2 separate regions of the Homo sapiens genome follow, and region 2 is linked to region 1. The links are contacts of gene promoters, found by promoter capture Hi-C in blood cells and fetal thymus (Javierre and others, 2016). All regions are on one chromosome and are shown on one strand. Each heading gives the region's core, a stretch centred on a gene start or on the middle of the fragment in contact. The rest is flanking DNA. Distances are from core to core; before and after follow the strand shown.

Region 1 (2,822 bases), core at 104-2,603:
GTGAGTGTATGGGGGAGGGTGAGTGATTCAGGCACAGGGACACCTGCTCCGCGAGAGAGACCACTTGAGTCCTTGTTTCTGAATCATTTCACTCTCAAAACACAGGCAAATGCAGCTTTCAGGTCCCTGGCCAGGAAGTGCCTCGGGAGTCTGAGGGCAGAGCTGGCTGCATCCTCCCAGGTGCAAGGAAGCACACTCCCTGTAGCTAACAGTCCCTGGTCACCCACCTACCAGCGCCCACCAGCAGGGCCCTCTGACCCTGCCTCAGGCCGGGATCACTAAAGCCTGCGTCCCTGTGCCTCCAAACCTCAGTTTCTCTGTTCCTGCATTCCGGTCCCAGGCCTAAATCTGACAGACACCTTCTCTCCTGCTCCCAGGAGGTTGCAGCTGGGACTCTCCTAGCCTAACCCCAGGACCCCAGGGCTGGGGTAGTTGCAGAGGGTGGGCTGGCCCTAAAGTTTCTCTGTGGGCAGGAGCCCTTCTCTTGGTCAGGTGAGGCCAGGCCAGACCACACACAGACCAGTGCTGGCTGTGCGCTCCCTCCCCAGACCTCCCGTCGGACCATCTCCCCCTGAGTCCTGCAGCCCTGGCACCTTTGGTTCTGGGCCCTCTGCAGATGGGTGTCACAGGGTGGCCATCCAGCTCAGTGCAGGAGCAGCTGGAGGTCAGGCTGGCCTGTCTGTTCAGCCCCTTCAGAGCCCCCTCCCCAGGCTGTGCCTTATCCTAGCCCACACACTGTGGAGTAGTGGTGTCTCTTAGGTGGCAAGGATATCTGGCCAAGGAATGTGTCCTTTAGGGCCAGTCTGAGAAAGGCATTAAGCAGGCTCTTTTTAGGGGGCTGGAGGAAGGAGTCCCACCTCTACCCTGCTCCACGTGGTCCCAGTATGGAGGTGCCTTTGAAGCAGAGCCAGGGAATGGGGGCCGCTTGCTGGGACGCCCAGAGAGGGGACAGCTGGAAAGAGCAGAGATCAGCTTCCCCAAGCCCATGGCTATCCTACCATTTGTCCTGGCACCCTTGCCACCCCCAAGTCCTACAGCTCTCACAGCCAGGTGCCCCCCAGTTCCCTGAAAGTCCCCACCCTCTTCCAGCTTGGGCCTGGGCTGGAGTCCCCACCTCTGCCCTCCACCTGGGCCTAGGGGGCAGAGGGCAAGCTGTAGGGATCTAAGGCCCACCCTCTTCCTAGATAGGAACCAGCCCACCTTGCAGCAGGACTCCCAGGAGGGTGACAGCAGCCAGTAGAGCTACCTCGTCCTTCATGGTACCGTCGGTGTGGTGGCACGGGCTGTGTGTGAAGGCGAGCTGGGGAACGCTTAGCCCCGTCTGCTGCTCAGAGGACGGCCCAGGAGAGGAAGAGCAGCCTCGGTGCTCTCCCCGCCCCATCTCAGTGGAGGGGGTGCACGGGGGTGTGACCATACCACACAGAGCCAGGGAGCCAGGCCAAGCCAGCAGGGAGGAAACCAAAGTCTGGGCAGGGGAGAGCAGCTAGCTGGAGACCGCCTCACCACTTCCTGCTTGTTCGTGCCCCTTCCTTGCCTAGTCCCGCGTGGCAGAGCCCAAGCTGTCCATCTGGGTCAGCTCCAGCTGTGGGTGTGCCCCCTGCTGCACCACCCCACTTTCTCCAGGGCCTTGCAGACCCCCACATCATGCTGGAGCCAGCCCCAGGCTCCCGGCTAACTCCTCCACCCACCTTATCTGTTCCCTGTCCCCATCCAGGCTGTTCCTGGCAACCCCTGCCAAACCCTCCTCTGCGGAAGCCCTTCCCAGTGCCTTTGGCTTCAGAATGGAGTCCCAGCGCCCCCCCAGCCACACTGGGCCCCACAAGCTCTTTCTCCTTCAGGAAACCTCATGCCTGCCAGCCTTAGTCGTTGTAGGGGTTCCATGCACAAGGGCCACCCTGCCAGGAGGAAACCTGTCCAAGGCCCCCTGGGTGGCGGGAGGGTCAGCCCTTGTGGGCCATCCCTCTCCCAGGCCTCTCTTGGGCCTCCCACAACAGTCACCTGCTGTGTCTTTCTGCCCCGCAGCCCTCTTGCCTCAAGGTAACAACCCTCCACCACCTTCCTAGACGGCTGCCCTCCCCACACTCAGGCCCTGTGGTCTGGACAGTGCTGACTCCTGCCCCTTCCAGGCCTGTGAGATGGACACTGAGCCAAGGCTGACTCAAGATGGTGAGATGTAGTTCTGGAAACTTCCTTAGGACTTTGGGACAGGAAACTCAGAGTGGGGAGGGGGACTACGGCGGGCCACCCTGAGGACAGAGCCCACGCAGGGCCAGGTGGAGAGGAAAGGTGGCACCCGAGGACTCCTGCCTGGAGTTCTGGGTGTCTCCCTCGCCCCGCCTGGAGCGCCCCCGGCCGCCCCCCTCGCCCTGCCTGGAGTGCCCCTGGCCGCCAGCCTTCCCAGTTGGGCCTAACGGTCACTTCCTCTTTTGGCTTGAGTGGGTTTGCGGTGGCTTTTGGTCAGAAGTGGCAAAGTCCAGACTGACCCAGAAGCACGGGCAGGAGCTGGGGGAGGCCACAGGCCGTGCTGCAGGGGTCGGGCCGCATGGTTCTGCCCTCGCACCTGGTCCTTCCTTGCTGCCCCAAGCTCAGCTCCAGCCTGAGGCTCGGAGCCTGTTGGGCTCTCTCAGAATCCCTTCTTCCTCCTCTGGGTATCGCCCCTGCCCCCGGAAACCAGATATGCCCCAGCTGGGGGCTCTGTGAGCTCCTCCAGGGCAGGGGCCAGGGCTCAGGCCCGGCCCCTGCTTTAGACCAAGCTGTGACAGTCATCTTGGGGCTCAGTGATGGAGGACTGCCTCCTAGATCCCGGACACAGATGTAGTGCC
Region 2 (2,713 bases), core at 123-2,622, 150 kb after region 1:
GAACAATTGGGAATCTCCTGAGGACAACTTGGAGGTGCGTCCCCTCATCTGCGCACCCCACAGATGCTGGAAATGCATGTTCTAATGGATTGGGAGAGACGGAGATGGGGTCCAAACCTCCAGTCCCTGGAGCCCGTAAATCTCCTTGGGAGGCTTGGCGCCCACAGAGACCTCTTCCACAGCGCTGCACACACAGATCTTCCTTCCTAGAGGATCTGAACTCACTTAGAAAACTGCCAGCACAGGAGGGATAACATCAGCTGTGCCCCCCACTGGAGAACCCAGAGACTCTGGGTCATTGTCAACATTGCCCCCAGAATGGGCTCTCTGCTGGGGAAGATGCTCAGGAATTGCTGCTCTTTTGCAATGCCAGTCTCTCCTAACAGAACTGCAGATTCCACGTGTAGACCTGCAAACTTCTGTTCTCTGCAGTTCCCTGAGTCACAGTTTACACAATCACAATTTTTTTTTTTTTTTTTAGATGGAGTCTCACTCTGTTGCTCAGGCTGGAGTGCAGTGGCACCATCTTGGCTCACCACAACCTCCGCCTCCCGGATTCAAGCCATTCTCCTGCCTCAGCCTCCCGAGTAACTGGGATTACAGGCTTGTGCCACCGCACCCAGCTAATTTTTGTAATTTTAGTCGAGAGAAGGTGTCACCATGTTAGCCAGGCTTGTCTTGAACTCCTGACCTTGAGATATCTGCCCACCTCAGCCTCTCAAAGTGCTGGGATTATAGGCTTGAGCCACCACGGCTGGATGAATCATAAATTGTAAACCTGAATAAAATGCTGCAACCTCCAATGAGAGGAAAATATCTTCTTTGTCCAATTTTAGTTATTGTCCAGTCAAATGGTATCAATGTCATATTTTAAAATTTCATTGGTAACAAGGCCTGAACTAGAGATGGGTGACTTCCTTGTTTTGGAAACACGATCAAGACCCACAGCGAGTGGATTCTAGAAATAAACCAGCAGAGGCATGTGGGCTCACACTGGCCTCCAGGGGCTGTGCAACTGGCACATTATTTTGCACATAACTTGGGTCAGGTTTGTGAGGTCTGGTTTTTAAACAAGTAAGTCAAATGTATGGCAGTATTTCTATTTTATCCTATGGCAAAATAATTCTTCCTAATTTTAATATTATTTTGTTCCTTAGGATTTGACAAAGTCTTAATGTTCAGCCAACATGGCTTAAGCTGTTGAACTACTCAGTTTTGTTTTGTTTTGTTTTATTTTTTTGAGACGGAGTCTTGCTCTGTTACCCAAACTGGAGTGCAGTGGCGAGATCGCAACTCACTGCAATCTCCACCTCCTGGATTCAAGCCATTCTCCTGCCTCAGCCTCCTGAGCAGCTGGGACTACAGGCGCCCGCCACCACGCCTGGCTAATTTTTGTATTTTTAGTAGAGACAAGGTTTCACCATGTTGACCAGGATGGTCTCCATCTCTTGACCTCGTGATCCGCCCGCCTCAGCCTCCCAAAGTGCTGGGATTACAGGTGTGAGCCACCCCGCTCGGCCTTTTTGTTTGTTTGTTTGAGACAGAGTCTCACTTTATTGCCCAAGCTGGAGTACAGTGGCGCGATGTTGGCTCACTGCAACCTCCACCTCCCAGGTTCAAGCGATTCTCCTGCCTCAGGTTCCCGGGTAACTGGGATTATAGGTGCTGGCCACCACTGCCTAGGCTGGTCTCGAACTCCTGGCCTCAACTGATCTGCTGGCGTCAGCCTCTCAAAGTGCTGGGATTACAGGCATGAACCACTGGCTATTTTTTTTTTTTTTTTTTGCCTCTCAGCCTCAAGCAGTCCTTCTGCCTCAACCTCCCCAGTAGCTGGGACCACAGACACACACCACCATGCCTGACGAATTTTTGTATTTTCTGTAGAGATGGGGTTTGCTGTGTTGCCCAGGCTGGTCTCGAACTCTTGGCCTCAAGTGATCCACCTGCCTCAGCCACCGGGTCTGGCCCCTTCATGCATTTTTTTCATTTATTTATTTATTTTAGACGGAGTCTCGCTCTGTCACGCAGGCTGGAGTGCAGTGGCGCGATCTCGGCTCACTGCAACTTCTGCCTCCCAGGTTCAAGCGATTCTCCTGCCTCAGCCTCCTGAGTAGCTGGGATTACAGGCGCACGCCACCACGCCCAGCTAATTTTTGCATTTTTAGTAGAGATGGGGTTTCACAATGTTGGTCAGGCTGGTCTCAAACTCCTGACCTCGTGATCCACCCACCTCAGACTCCCAAAGTGCTGGGATTACAGGCATGCGTCACTGCACCAGTCCCCTTCATGCATTTTTGAATTGAGTTGTTTGATTTGTTGTTGGCAAATATTTTCCCTCATGCTGTGGGTTGCTCCTTACATTTTTTTTTTTTTTTTTTTTTTTTTTGAGACAGAGTCTCACTCTGTCACACAGGCTGGAATACAGTGGCAGGAGCTCTGCTCACTGCAACCTCTGCCTCCCGGGTTGACGCCATTCTCCCAATTCAGCCTCTCGAGTAGCTGGGACTATAGGCGCCCGCCACCACGCCTGGCTAAATTTTTTTTTGAATTTTTAGTAGAGACGGGGTTTCACCGGGTTAGCCAGGATGGTCTTGATCTCCTGACCTCATGATCCATCCACCTCGGCCTCCCAGAGTGCTGGGAACACAGGCGTGAGCCACCATGCCCGGCCGCTCCTTACATTTTTGAGCCTTCATAATCAATCTTCCTTCCT

What was found. The method cuts DNA at HindIII sites, captures the fragments that hold promoters and counts their contacts. A CHiCAGO score of 5 or more calls a contact.
Region 2: a contact is called between a fragment that was not itself captured here and the fragment with the promoter of LTC4S in region 1, in 2 of 17 cell types (neutrophils and monocytes). The highest score is 8.3, in neutrophils.

Annotation. Positions count from the first base shown.
Region 1 is chr5:179,792,517-179,795,338 of GRCh38, reverse strand. It overlaps LTC4S (leukotriene C4 synthase), which reads right to left and starts at 1,353. Exons shown (of 5, transcript NM_145867.2): 1 at 1,201-1,353. The coding sequence starts at 1,258. RefSeq lists enhancers at 1-230, 1,714-1,863, 1,884-1,963, 1,538-2,165 and a silencer at 1,294-1,363. The HindIII fragment of the contact is 38,202 bases long and covers 1-2,822 here.
Region 2 is chr5:179,639,647-179,642,359 of GRCh38, reverse strand. SPATA31J1 (SPATA31 subfamily J member 1) reads left to right here. Exons shown (of 6, transcript NR_131066.1): 5 at 1-34; 6 at 482-816. All of the region lies in intron 4 of LOC128966623 (a long non-coding RNA gene), which reads right to left. Among named protein-coding and RNA genes, the nearest start is that of SPATA31J1, 4.0 kb to the left of the region's middle. The HindIII fragment of the contact is 4,198 bases long and covers 1-2,713 here.